Linked DNA regions of Homo sapiens: all the other regions are linked to region 3. The links are contacts of gene promoters, found by promoter capture Hi-C in human tissues and cell types (Jung and others, 2019). All regions are on one chromosome and are shown on one strand. Each heading gives the region's core, a stretch centred on a gene start or on the middle of the fragment in contact. The rest is flanking DNA. Distances are from core to core; before and after follow the strand shown.

Evidence for each region. The method cuts DNA at HindIII sites, captures the fragments that hold promoters and counts their contacts. A contact is called where the count stands out against the background at its distance.
Region 1: a fragment that was not itself captured here is called in contact with the fragment with the promoter of HAO1 in region 3 in 2 of the 25 tissues and cell types used here (H1 embryonic stem cells and dorsolateral prefrontal cortex).
Region 2: a contact is called between a fragment that was not itself captured here and the fragment with the promoter of HAO1 in region 3, in 4 of the 25 tissues and cell types used here (lymphoblastoid cells, mesendoderm cells, spleen and 1 more).
Region 4: a contact is called between a fragment that was not itself captured here and the fragment with the promoter of HAO1 in region 3, in 2 of the 25 tissues and cell types used here (H1 embryonic stem cells and stomach).
Region 5: a contact is called between a fragment that was not itself captured here and the fragment with the promoter of HAO1 in region 3, in 2 of the 25 tissues and cell types used here (mesendoderm cells and small bowel).

The regions. Positions count from the first base shown.
Region 1 is chr20:8,456,518-8,459,217 of GRCh38, forward strand. All of the region lies in intron 3 of PLCB1 (phospholipase C beta 1), which reads left to right. It overlaps LOC124900459 (a long non-coding RNA gene), which reads left to right. Exons shown (of 2, transcript XR_007067518.1): 2 at 1-2,700. Among named protein-coding and RNA genes, the nearest start is that of PLCB1-IT1, 210 kb to the left of the region's middle. The HindIII fragment of the contact is 3,506 bases long and covers 1-2,700 here.
Region 2 is chr20:8,665,730-8,668,429 of GRCh38, forward strand. All of the region lies in intron 9 of PLCB1 (phospholipase C beta 1), which reads left to right. Among named protein-coding and RNA genes, the nearest start is that of RNU105B, 160 kb to the right of the region's middle. The HindIII fragment of the contact is 3,580 bases long and covers 1-2,700 here.
Region 3 is chr20:7,939,118-7,941,817 of GRCh38, forward strand. HAO1 (hydroxyacid oxidase 1) reads right to left here and starts at 1,341. Exons shown (of 8, transcript NM_017545.3): 1 at 1,169-1,341. The coding sequence starts at 1,305. The HindIII fragment of the contact is 11,188 bases long and covers 1-2,700 here.
Region 4 is chr20:8,584,792-8,587,491 of GRCh38, forward strand. All of the region lies in intron 3 of PLCB1 (phospholipase C beta 1), which reads left to right. Among named protein-coding and RNA genes, the nearest start is that of RNU105B, 250 kb to the right of the region's middle. The HindIII fragment of the contact is 7,424 bases long and covers 1-2,700 here.
Region 5 is chr20:8,609,745-8,612,444 of GRCh38, forward strand. The region is part of intron 3 of PLCB1 (phospholipase C beta 1); the gene reads left to right. Among named protein-coding and RNA genes, the nearest start is that of RNU105B, 220 kb to the right of the region's middle. The HindIII fragment of the contact is 3,614 bases long and covers 1-2,700 here.

The DNA of each region.
Region 1 (2,700 bases), core at 101-2,600, 520 kb after region 3:
GTGTATTTCCTGCTTTTAATAAACACAAGTTTTATGAGAAAAATAAATAAATTTCAATATAAAATTAAGATGTACAGAATATAGATTTAGCACATATAAAAAAGGAAACAAAAATCATTTTACCTTCACTTTAGCCTGGGCTGATTTAACAAAACACCATAAACTGGGTAGATTTTTAACATCAGAAATTAATTTCTCATAGTTCTAGAGGCTGAGAAGTCCAAGATCAAGGTGCTGGCAGATTTGGTGTCTGGTGAGAGCCCACTACCTCACAGATAGCCTTCTTCTCACTGTAACTCACATGGGAGAAGTGGCCAGAGAGCTCCCTGGGACCTCTTTTATAAGGGCACTAATGCCATTCAGGAGGGAGGGCATCACCCTCAGGACCTCATGACTTCCCCAAGGCTCCATGTCTGAACATCATCACCTTGGGGGTTAGGATTTCAACATATGAATTTTGGATTGGGACATAAAGAGTCTACTGCAAATTTCTTCATGTCAGTCACATTTTAACCAAAATCATCTTACATGGACTTCTCTAGAGGTAGTTATATTTTTTAACCAACTGCACTTTTATATGATAACATATTTTTATATGCCACCTGCAAAAGGGCTACCTAATGAGGCCACCTATTTTTTGTAAGTGTAAGAGACTCAGCTGGAAGCAAGTTCAAGTGTGAAGCACTGTCCCCTCTCTACCTGGGACATGGTGCATACAAATGGGAGTAACATGAGCTTTGCAGGGGTCATCTTGGCCTCCTGTCCCACCTCCACCACTTACCAGTCATCATTCATTATTGTTATTCCATGAACAATGCCACCCACAAACCCAGAGTGACTCTCAGTTCATTGCTTGTCTTCACCCAGCGTAATGCCAGTTGTGTGTCCTTAACATCTTTCTCATCTCCTTATTTTGTCCTCACTTCTCTCCCCACTGCCAATGTTTAGGCCTGCAGCAACGATTTCCTAAATTGCCCACCTTCCATCCAGCTTCCATCACACTGCTAGAGTAACACTTCAGAAAATCCAAGTTCAATCCTATTAAAATCTTATTTTAATCAGTCGTCTATTTAATTATTTTTATTATTGCCCATTACTAGGATAGAGAATTCCAAGTTTGTCAAGTAATGAACTGCATGATATTCCTGGTCTCTTTATTCAAAGTCATCTCCTACTTATACCCCTAATGTGTGCGCGCACACACACACACACACACACACACACACACACGTACACACCATCTTGCCTTCCAGGCACCCTCAGCCACCTTTACTACTCCTGGCATGCTGTCTCCTGCACAAGTCTCATTGCCTTTACCCTCTGTGGAATTTCCCTCTCTGTGCTCTTACCAGATCACTTTATAAAGTTATTTTTAAATATGCTTGTGAAAATAAATGAAGATCACATGAACAAGAACAGAGGTGATTTATTTAGAGTTTGCAAGAGAATCAACCACTATCAGTTGCATTTGGCACAGACTTAAAGGAACACAGAAAGATAGGAAACCTTTAGAGTGAAACAAAGAGCAGGTTCCAGGTACGCTGTGGCATGAGGAAGCTGGAGTTGAGCTAACTAGATGTGAACATCTGATGTGGTTGGTTTGGGAAGCAGATCTTGCTTCCTCCGGTTGATTCTGAGTTGAAAGGAGGGAGCCAAGAATAGGGAAGCTGGCAGTCATTGACTGTATCGTGACTGTTGGGGCCAGTTGCTGTAGAGGTTGTGGTTTGGCTTCCAGCTGGTTGCTGCAGAGGTGGTGCTCAGAATTCTGTTGTCATATATTGTCTGGCCATTGTCCGTTTGTATATTTCATCTCTCATGATCAATCAATATTTTTTGAATGAGTACATGAATATTTCATCTCAGTAAGTGATCATTCCCTCCTCATCCATCTTAATCATAAAATTCTAATGTCCTAGGTTCTTTATCTTTCAACAAATTATGTTTCCCTTTCTTAATGGGTAGAAAAAGGAAGCTTCCCCATAGGCCTAAATGTGCTGATTTCAAGAGAAAGCATACTTCTTTGCAACAAGAAATTGCCCAGGCCTTCACTCTTAACCACTATGCTACATCAACGTCCTTAGATGAAACAGAGACTTGGGGGCATATATTTCCCAATTTTTCAAAATCCATTTTTATCGCATATTCAATTTGGCCTGCTTACCTTATTTACATTACCTGTCTGGGATGAAAGACATTTGAGGTTGTCATTCTGGACTCTTAAGTAAGTTCTTCCTTTAAAGTAAAGAAGCTGACCTTCCAAGCTAATTTATCCCACTTAACAAGAGTAATAATAACACACCACCCACTCCAGAAAGGAAATCATGCAGATGAATGAAATAATGTTTGTACAGAGCTTGACACTCCATAAAATACTCTAATAACATGGTGTCTACACTTTGAAATGTTCAAATCCTATTTCAATAGAATTAAAAGCCATGAAGAATAAAATGTGAATTGCTTGTCAGACTTTTACATAGAGGTGCAGGGTGATACTGATGCCATTAGACAATTTAAAAGCTGGGTTTTAGCAAAGTTTCTGAGGAATCTGATTGGTTTGTGGGGGAGAAAGTGATGGTGGTACTTATTCATATCCATTTTTGTAGAAAAACAATAGGTTATAACATGAACCGAGAAACACTTACGCAGCTAAATTTACAGAAATCTGTCTACTCATCTCCGAGGAAAAGTTTTGGCTAAGCA
Region 2 (2,700 bases), core at 63-2,562, 730 kb after region 3:
CGCTTTACTAGGTAGAAGTTATAAAAACTAATGATGGTGATGATTATAATCTCTATTCTCCATCCTTGAAAGATCAAACATGCCCTAATTAAAGAAATAGGCTGGCATAGTGTCATGATGAAGCCAGTAAACCTCAGGCAAGAGACTTGACTTGTGTGAGCTTCAGGTTCTTCATCTGTAAAATGGGATGAGACCAGCAATGTAGCAGACACCTGTGCTATTCCCATGTCCCTTGGCAATCATGGTTCCAACCCAGCCACCTACACACTTGGCAACTCTTCAGGGCCTTCTATCAGTCCATCCACAGCCAGGCTACAATTCCCAGGGACTGCATGCCTCAGGAGTAGTTGAAGAATAAATACCTTATCTTCCATGCCCCTTGGGTTGCAAAGTTCTGATGTGTGTTCTCTGCTTTCTCCCAGAGTTCCTCGGTGAGACTGAGCCCTAACTGCCCACAGCTGTAACCTGCCTGATACCCTTCTCCTTCTTAGCTGCCTTTCCTTCTTGTCTCACTTCTCTTCTCTACTGTTGTTTCATAGGGTCAACTCCCAAAAAAGGTGCTTGCACTCAAATCCTTGTCTCAGATCCTGTTTTTGGAAGAACCCAAACTAAGACAAGCACTTTTCTATAAATGGCCTTAAGGGAATCAAAAGTGAAAGATGGGTAAGGTCAGAGTTGCTGAGCATTGAGAGAAAAAAAAATGGAAAGAGGCTGTGCCTCATCATTCCTGCCAACCTATCACGTTATTGTCTTCGTTGTTTCCAATCACGAAGCCCTGGCCAGTGGCCTCCAATCATAGATTTCCAGTCTACAAAGGACTTAGCCATTTAGCTTAGTCAAACTGTCAGTTTATTAGAAGAGGCAGTTTGCAGAAATGGCAATGTTGGGACCAAGACCATGTTTTCTTTGTCCCGCTACTCCAGACATCCACCTAGGCACTCCAACAGGACTTGCTTAGAAAAAAGTTGCAACACAGACCATTTAGAAGTTAGTGATCGATGTCTATAGCAGTGGTTTCCAAGCTGGTCCTAGACATAGCACCCTTTGTTTGTTTCTTCTAACAAAGTCTCGTGAGAAAGGCCAATGTGTAGGGAAAAGCTTTAAAGGTGCTGTCTTGGTGGAATAGAGGGGAGCCTGGAGTACAGGTGATGGTGGCTGTTGCCCTATCACTCTTTCTCCTCCTGACCTACCCCATTCTCTGCAGGGATGTCTGCCCAAACCCAGGGATATTCAGGATACTCAGTTTAAAAACCACTCCTCTGAAGGAAATACTGACTAGTTTAAAGATCTGCCTCACAATTAAGGTGGCATCCATTTAAGTCATTTTATATAGATTACCTACAAAGTAGTTGAGGAAACAGAACCGACGTGAATCAACAAAGTCAACACAAATAAGATCAATTTTCTCCCAAAAGACAAAAACAGAGGAAAACTATATGATGTAGCCAATGCTTTCATGCCTTAATTAAGTTACTACACTGAAAAAGCTGCTGAAAAGCTACTCTAGGATTTTATTGATCGAAATCTCATTTAAATTCCTCCTATTGACTCTCTAACCTCTGCGGAAGGTTACAGAAAAATGGCATTGTCGTCCCTGAGTGCATTCCAAGTTCTTCTTAACTTCATGTTTGGTATGTTCATAGACTTCTCTGAAATATTTCAGATTGCCTAAGAATGAAAAAAAAATTTTTCAAGATCGTCATTGTGGATCTATTGTTCATTGGTTGACTTGGCAACTCCCTTTGCTTTCCTTTCCGTTATTACATTTCCTTTATTCCCAGAAGGCAGGGCCTGGGCCTGAGGAAAGGCAAAGGCCTGGCCTAGGAATTCTGTTTCTTTTCTCCTTTATTTCAGTGACCTCAGTGTCTGCTCAGGCCCACAGCTCTGGCCAGAAAGTCACAGCCCTGTCTACTCACAGCTGAAATGTCCTTTGTTCAGAAAATAACCAGACAGGAAAAATATAAACAGTAAAAGGCAAAATCAAATGCCAGTCCACAGGATAGATAAGTGAGCTTGGTAGCCTCATCAACCCCATAGTCTGCTGAGTCTTGTTAAAACTTCTTTCCTTCATCACACCTTTCAGAGGTGCCTTGCCATTTCATGGGAGAGCTATTGGGACAGAGCAGAGAATGGCTTCTTTCCCCCTAGATGTGACCTCCCAGCAGAACACAGCATTGACAATTGTTGGCTAGTATAGCTTTCCCCTTGTCAGCAGGGTCTAGGAGCAGGTTGCAGTGCGTGTGGGGTGGGGTGGAGGGGACTCTGGCTCAGTCAAAACTGCCTGGCAGGTTGTACTGTGTTGGGAGGGAGAGAGGCCACAGGCGTTTGGCTCCTAACTTCGGCATTATCCAGGGTCTTGTCAATAGTCAATGTGATACAACAGATAAGTGGGAGGGAAATAGGTCGAATGCAGAAAAAAAAAAAGCAAACCACAGGGAAACCAGATTAAGTGAGGGATGGACCTTCCACCCTAACCCTTAATAGAAAAGCTGAAAAATGTACCATAGTAGGGAATCCTGCCAGGAAGTGGACAGTGACCAAGGATTTCAAAAATCTCTTATGGAGATTCTGGAAGGTCTGTCTTAACTCTGAATCACTACAGTCTCTAGGATGCCAGCTGTGACAGCAAAGATTATCTCCAAGCTAGGGATAGCATTATTTTAACAGGAGAGTTAATTGAGAATGATGGACAAAATCAAG
Region 3 (2,700 bases), core at 91-2,590:
CAAAATAGTAAATAATGATGCAGAATTTTAAGCCCCTCTACTCTCAGTCAACTTCCCTTCCCATGACTTCCCTGGCATTTGTTGAGCTCATTTGGGTTCCAGGCAAAACCTGAGACAAAGTCAAGGCTTGAAAGGGTTGGGGAGAGGCCGTATCCTTCACCCCATTGCCATTTTCAGTCTTCTACATGGATTTGTGGGTGAATCAGTGCTGCCTACCAGAGACCACCTTGGCCAGGATAATTTTATTTCTCCTAATTTAAATATGGAAAACTGATTTTGAGTGATTTTGTTGTAGACTAAAGAAGAAATCAGGGAGGAAGGCTAATTCTCTCCCCCTGCATATTTTCTGCCTTTTTGTCTTTATCACCATCAATGAGTACCCACAATACCGATTGCCTTTACTAACAGCCATAATGTTAGATGGATGAGACTGAGTGTAGTGTAGTGAAGGCACTCCTCTCTTGCTCCAGCAAATAAACCATTTTTGTAACTGCTATAAAAAAAAACCCTTTGAAATGATTTTATTTCTTGTTTTTATTACAAACAGAAAACATAAACCATGTCACCCACCATCTTGTGCTTTGAAATATGAAAGTCAAAGGAAAACTAATTTGGGAAGAGAGATGAAGTGCTTTGAAGGAGAGATGAAACAGCAAAGTTGAAAGATTAATGCTGCATAGACAAATTGAAATCTAAAGTGAAAGTTTAGACAACAGTAATCAAAATGAATGATAACACGAAAAGCCAGCAGGAAGAAAACATTTGAGCCAACAATCCAGTCTGGTTCATCCGGATAAGATGGTTATCTGGCATTTAATGCTGTTTCCTACACCATGAACATAAGCATTTACTGTCATACTAAGAAAAAGAAAAGTCATCCGAATTTATCGCTATTTTTACATGTAGTTAAATTAATTGTTGTCATATTTCCAAGTGAAGTAACATAGGTTTGGCTTTTGCAGTCAGTTCCTCAAGATTCACAGGCTTGGAATATTTTTTAACAATTTAAAGGCCCAAGATTTCTTACAGCCCCAAGAACTTTTCCCTCTCTACTAAGCACAAATCTGAACAAATAATTACACACCACCAACGTAAAACTAGGAGATCTTATTTTGGTACGGTCTTTGTGTAATTTTAAAACATGATTTTAAAAAATAAATTTTCTTACCTGGAAAATGCTGCAATATTATCAGCCAAAGTTTCTTCATCATTTGCCCCAGACCTGTAATAGTCATATATAGACTTTGGAAGTACTGATTTAGCATGTTGTTCATAATCATTGATACAAATTAGCCGGGGGAGCATTTTCACAGGTTATTGCTATCCCAGATGGAGTTCGTTGTTTTTTTTTTTTTAATGTATTGCTTTCTACATCCTCACTGTTCTGTTATTTGTCAATTATTAATAGACTTTTGCCAAAGTTCAGATTTAGTTCTCTGTTGCTTACATCAAGTGAGCAAACATTATATGCTTAGCCTTTGAAATTTCATTTGTAGGCTATCTGCCAAAGAACACCGAAGTCACTATCTGCCAAAGAACACCAAAGTTGAGGTTGGGAAGGCAGCAGAAGGTGATTAGGTGTCTATCACATTAAAAAGGGGAAAGGAATAAGTAAAAAATTAAAGACTTAGAGGAATACCTGTATGAAACCACTCTTGGTTCAGTTTTGCCTAAGGCTGCTTATTGCACATGGTCTGTGCCTGTGCTCTTTGCTTGATACCCAGAATAGGCTGCCCACTCATTTTCTTTCCACATTTGGATCATGCACAAATCATGTAAACAAGAGCTTATGAACTGAACGGGGCATCCATGAAATATGGGGCATCCGTGAAATTCAGGGCTTCTGCACAATATAAAATTTAGCTGATTACAAACATAGACATTTGGCTTTAACATGGAACATTAAGGCCAAATTGACAGCTAATTGTTTTATTCATTCTGTATATTTGAGGTTTACAACATGATATTATGAGATACATATACACAGAAAAATGGTTACAGTAGGGAGGCCAATATAATATATGTATCATCTCACCCGTAATTACTTTTTTGTGTGTATGACAAGAACAGCTAAAATCAACTTATTTAACAAAAATTCCTAATATGATACAATTTTATTAACTTTAGTCCTCATTTTGCACGTTTGCTCTCTAGACCAGGGGTCCCAAACTCCCCAGCATGGACTGGTACTGGTCCGTGGCCTGTTAGGAACCAAGCTGCACAGCAGGAGGTGAGCAGCCGGTGAGCAAGCTTTACAGACTGAGCTCCGCCTCCTATTGTGAACTGCACATGCGAGGGATCTAGGTTGCGCCACTCCTTATGAGAATCTAATGCCTGATGATCTGAGGTGGAACAGTTTCATTCCAAAACCATCCACCTACCCCCACTGCCCATGGAAAAATTGTATTCCACAAAACTTGTCCCTGGTGCCGAAAAGGTTAGGGACCCTGTTGTAGATTTATGTATCCTACGTGTCTACTATTTTGTATCCTTTGACCTATATCACCCCTTTTCCTCTTCCCTGCTTCCCACTAGTGGTATTCACTGTTTCATTCTCTAGCTCTGTGCATTTGAAGTCTTTTTTAAAACAAAATCCCACCTATAAGTGAAATAATGCAATAATTTCCCTTTTGTGCCTGGCTTATTTCACTTAGCATAATGTTCTCTGGGTTCTACTGCAAATGACAGGATTCCCTTCTC
Region 4 (2,700 bases), core at 49-2,548, 650 kb after region 3:
GCGATTCTCCTGCCTCAGCCTCCTTAGTAGCTGGGACTATAGGCGCCCGCCACCACACCTGACTAATTTTTGTATTTTTAATAGAGATGATGTTTCACCATGTTGGTCAGGCTGGTCTTGATCTCCTGACCTTGTGATCCCCCTGCCTCAGCCTCCAAAAGTGCTGGGATCACAGGGGTGAGCCACCACGCCTGGCCCTCAAGATTCTCTTTAGCCCAACATGATCCCAAGAAATCATTAGTCTTTTACTGCTTACCCTCAGAAGGGATCACCCTTGCACTGCCCTCATTGGGTGCTCTTGCCCATGCCATGGCCAGGGTCTCATTGTGATCCTTGGAGCTTCGGCTTACTTTTGGGGGGCAAAATGCTTCCAAGACTCTCAGTATTATAGCTCTAGGTCCATTTCTAGATGCATGTCCTAGGTGCTGAACTAGGTCTTTTCAGACATTCCTTACCTGCCAGAGGTAAGACTTTCTCTGTGCATGTCCTGGAGCCAGAGCCACCATGCTGTCCCATAAGCTGCGGTCTGATGGCAGAGGCAGACTCCATTGCCAAGACTCCAGTTCACTGACCCTTAATTGTGCACAGCTCAGAAGAGGTCACAGTTTGGCTCAGACTTCTTGAATAGCTTCTAGAAGAATTGTTTGAAATGAGAAGATGTTGGAAAGAACTAGAAACTCTTCTTTCATGATCTACTCCACACACATTTCACTCCAATAATACTAAACAGCTTCCAGTTCCTGGTCTACCATATCGGTTCATGTCTCCCTGTCTTTGATCACGTTATTAACTCTTTTTAGAATATATCACGTTTTTACCCCTCTTGACGTGATGCTTTTTCTTTTTCCAAGTCTGAGCTGAGATGTCATATTCTAGAACCACAAGTTCAGCTAAGTCCCTCTTCTCTAGGGCCTCATGCTAATGAGCTTCTTTAGCATTGCTTCCACTGTCTCCTAAATGTGAGGTGGTCTCTGCTCCTTGCCAGCTCCAAGTGACCAAATAGTATCTTTTTATAAACTCAAATGTAGACACTATCTCCATGAAATCTTTTCACCTCTTCTCCAATGAAGCGCTTTGCTTCTTCTCTATGTATATTTGACACTTCATTAATACCCCTCAGTGGTTTTTCATATTTTTATTTTTCCCGTTAGATTGTAAAACCTCCTTCAGAAGAGTTTTGTTTGACATTGAATTCCAATCTACTCCAGTGCCCAGCTCATTACCCCAGATTCAATAAATGCTCGCTGAATGAATGCATGCAGAGCTGAGTGGATAAGCAAGCCTCCTTGATTAATCACATCAATTAAACTGGGTCAAAGATGTTTTGTTATATTGGTTCCATTATCTGACTTTCGGAAAAGCAATGTGACCTACAGAGTTGACATGCCCTTGATATGGCAAAAGATGAGTTTCATCCTCAAATATCCCATTAGCATTTTATTTTCCCTGCTTAGAGTATATGGTTGACTTATTCCTGTCACAGACCTAAGTAACTACTAATATTGAGATTTTCTCTCTAATTCTTCTGACACTTCTTCTTTTTCTTTTTTATTTATTTATTATGGTTTTTTTTTTTGCCTAAAAAGCGTCATCTTTCTGGATCACGTCACCGACTCTAGCCTTTGGCTTTCTATCCAGGGACATTTTTCACAAAGAAACAAAACTGTTTAGTGATGGTAGCAGAGTTATCAACATGGTAAGTAGGGAAAAACGTATTTGCATTTAAAAGCAAATCCTGGACCTGTGGCAGAGCCAGGCTTGATAATTACGTCCCTTACATTGGCCGGCCTGATAAAGCTTGGATATTCACAGTGACAAGTAGCAACCCGCTATAGACCTTAGTGGTCACTCACAAATAGGAAAAAAATCTTGGAATGTTAAATTCGCAGATTAGAGAATCCCCTTTTCACATTTTCTGCAAAATCCATTTTGATGCAAATTAGATTACAGAAAATTTAAGATTCTCATAAATGTACATCATATTTCTGTTAGTGACGTTTTACCCTTGCCCCTCCACACCTTTGTGTTTAGGCTCACACATTTCAATTTCAAAACCCAGAACCATGGTATTAATTCTAAAATCTGAGCTACTAAAGCTGGGGCCCTCAAGTAAGTACACCATGGAATCTGCGAGATAGAAATTCCTAGCCTCGCATTTTAGTTTAAAAAGTTTTAGTTTGAAAGTATGGGGGATGAGCTGGTGGCATAAGCTGTATAACAATGATATTTTTATTAAATTTGAAGGCCTAAAAATATCCTGTAGTAGGGGAAAGTACTTTTACCCACCATAAATGTTATTAGGTTTGTGTAATTGTGCCAAAATTGTAAGGGCAAAAATGATCTGCTTTGCTATTGTCTAAAACTAACGCCAGCACTATCAATTAAAAAATATATATATATATATGATCTCAAAAAGGGAGATGGTGTAGAATCTACTTAGCTTTGAGCAGTACCAACAGAGAATTCTCCTAGGACTCATACTAAATGAGTTGGGTTATTATTAATTAGTAGGAGTTAAAACAATTATCAGATCATGTACAGCACTGTTCTTAATGCAGCCTGCCTAGGGACCCTGTTAGGAGGGTGTGTGGCCATTTGACTCTTGCTTTCTTTATGTAATATCATAATGACCCAAGCTAGGGGGATTCCAACAATGATATACAGCAGCTTATACAAAAGGGGACTTCATGTCATTCCAAA
Region 5 (2,700 bases), core at 172-2,671, 670 kb after region 3:
GCAATCCTCCTGCCTCGGCCCACTATGTAGGTGGTCAGCCACCTACAGGTGTCAGCCACCATGGCCAGCTTCATACATGTGTTCTGAAGCAACTTTTTTGAAAGCATGGTATACACATCACAAAGGGTGCACAGGTACTTTAGGGTGAATATCTGTATTTGCACACCAATAAATTAACCCTTCTAATGTAAACAATTCAGTGGTTTTTAGTATATTTAGTATATTCATAGATGTAAAATGAGCATCAGTATATAATTTTGGAATGTTTTCATCACTCCAAAAAGAAACCCCCTACCCATTAATAAGCATTCTTCCCTCCTTCCTCTTCCCAGACCCTGGTAACCATTTACCTTTCTGTCTCTATGTGTTTAACTATTCTAGAAATTTCATATAAATGGAATCATATAAAATTATGTTGGTGCAAAAGTAATTGATGTTTTTGCTTGTGAAAGTAATGGCCAAAACTGCAATCACTTTTGCACCAACCTAATACCTGGTATGTAGTGACTGGCTTCTTTCACTTAGCATAATGTTTTCAAGGTTAATCCATGTTGTAGCATATAACAGTACTTCATTGCTGTTAATTGTCAAATATTACTCAATTGCATGTATATACCATATTTGATTTTCCATTCATCAGTTGATAGACATTTGGATTGTTTTTATTTTTTGGCTATTATGAAAAATGCTGCTATGAACTTTCAGGTATAAGCTTTTGTGTGGACATGTTTTCATTTCTCGTAGGTATATACCTAAGAATGTAATTGCTGGGTCATATGATGGCTGTGTTTAACATCTTAAGGAGTTGCAAACTGTTTTCCAAATTGGCTATGACATTTTACCTTCCCACCAGCAGTTTATTTGATAAATTCCTTTCAGATAGAATTCATAAATATTTTCTCCCATTCTCTTTGTTGTCTTTTTACCTTCTTGATAGTGTCCTTTGTAGCACGAAGTTTTTGTTTTTTATAAAGTTCAATTTATCTATATTTTATTTTGTTACTTGTCCTCTTGGTTATGTAAGAAACCATTGCCTAACCCAAGATCTCAATGACTTATACCTAGGTTTTCTTCTAAGATCTTTAGAGTTTTAGCTCTTACATTTAGGTCTATGATAAATTTCAAGTTGATTTTTGCATATAGTGTGAGGTAAGGGTCCAAGCTCATTATGATAATGATGAGAAGTTTTATTTTAAATAAACATATTTTAATGTATGAAATTTGCTAATTTAAAGAAAAATCTTAAATAAATGGTAAACTATAAATATCTAAGAAATGTATCTCTTTTCAGGTTTTCTAGGAAAATCAACCTAGGATTTATATTAGTAAGGAAATTTATACTTAAAATTTTACTTTTATTTATTTTACTTTTTATTTATAGAAGGTAAGGATGAAATGATGAAGTGGGATAGAGGTTGACACCTATATATGTGCCAAGCTCTTTGTGAATGTAAAATTCTATTTTAAGGAAAAAAATATTGTGTTTTGAAGGCTAAGAAAACATGTATACAAGAAACTAAAATGGTGCCATTGGGCACCATCTTCTTTAATTCTTAGTTTTAAAATTCAGGGAAATACTTTGGTTTTGATAAGCTTAAGCCTAAGTGTTGAAAAATTCTTAAGTAAGGTTTAAAATTAAAACGACATCAGTAATTGTTAATAAAGGGATCACCAAAAAAGGCTTCACTATAGTCAGTTCATTCACATCAAGTTACCTAGTCAGTCTGGGTTGATTACCTTAAAATGTAAGAAGCCTGTATTATGACTTTATTTTAATAATAAAAAGGTCCTTTCAGTTCTAAAAACATGGCTATATCATGTTTTTTACTTCTTGAGCCTATAAAAACAATTTCTTTATAAGGACTAGGATAACCAGGAGGCCTAGTAATATCAACTAAAAAACATTTTATTGATGAAATAGTTTACAGAGTTTTATTGACCGTGCAGGAAACATTCAGGGACTCTTCAATCAATTCTCTTAGTATTTCCAGTGGTAGTTTGAGAACATTCCCTTGGCACTGTTTCTATATCTGCAAACTTTTAAGAGACGTATTAGCTGGGCATGGTGGTTCATGCCTGCAGTCCTAGCTACTCGGGAGGCTGAGGCAGGAAGATTGCTTGAGCCCGGGGGATAGAGTCTACAGTGAGCTGTGATGGTGCCACTGTACTCCAGCTTGGATGATGGAGGGAGATTCTGTCTCTAAAAGGATAAATAAAACAAACTAGAGATATATTCACCTCAAGTTTTCTCTGTTGAAAAACCAACTAGCTTTTAAGGAAGTTTGTAACTTCCTTAAAAACAGTTAGTTGGCCTTTCTCTGTGCTCCAAAAGCATTTATCCCTTTGTCCTAAAAGGATCTACGTATTTTCCTCTTCTACCAGATCATTAGAAGCTTGAGGGCAAAGACTGTGCCACATTCATAAACATAACCCTGGTATAGAAAATGGCAATAAAGGCATAAAGTTTGTTGAATGAATAAAAAACACAAATGAAAAAGTATGTTTATGGTATTGGTAGAGCTCCTGGAACATTCATTTGCATATAGGTGAATCAATTATTGTAGGAGAGGTCGCTTCAGTAAATGTTCAGAGTTTTCCTGGGATTCTATGACATAAAGATCCACAAGTCAGCTTTGAAGAAGGCAGCTCTCAAGCCCTCATCTTTGCCGTCCATTGGATGGAGGAAGGGTGGCATAGCAA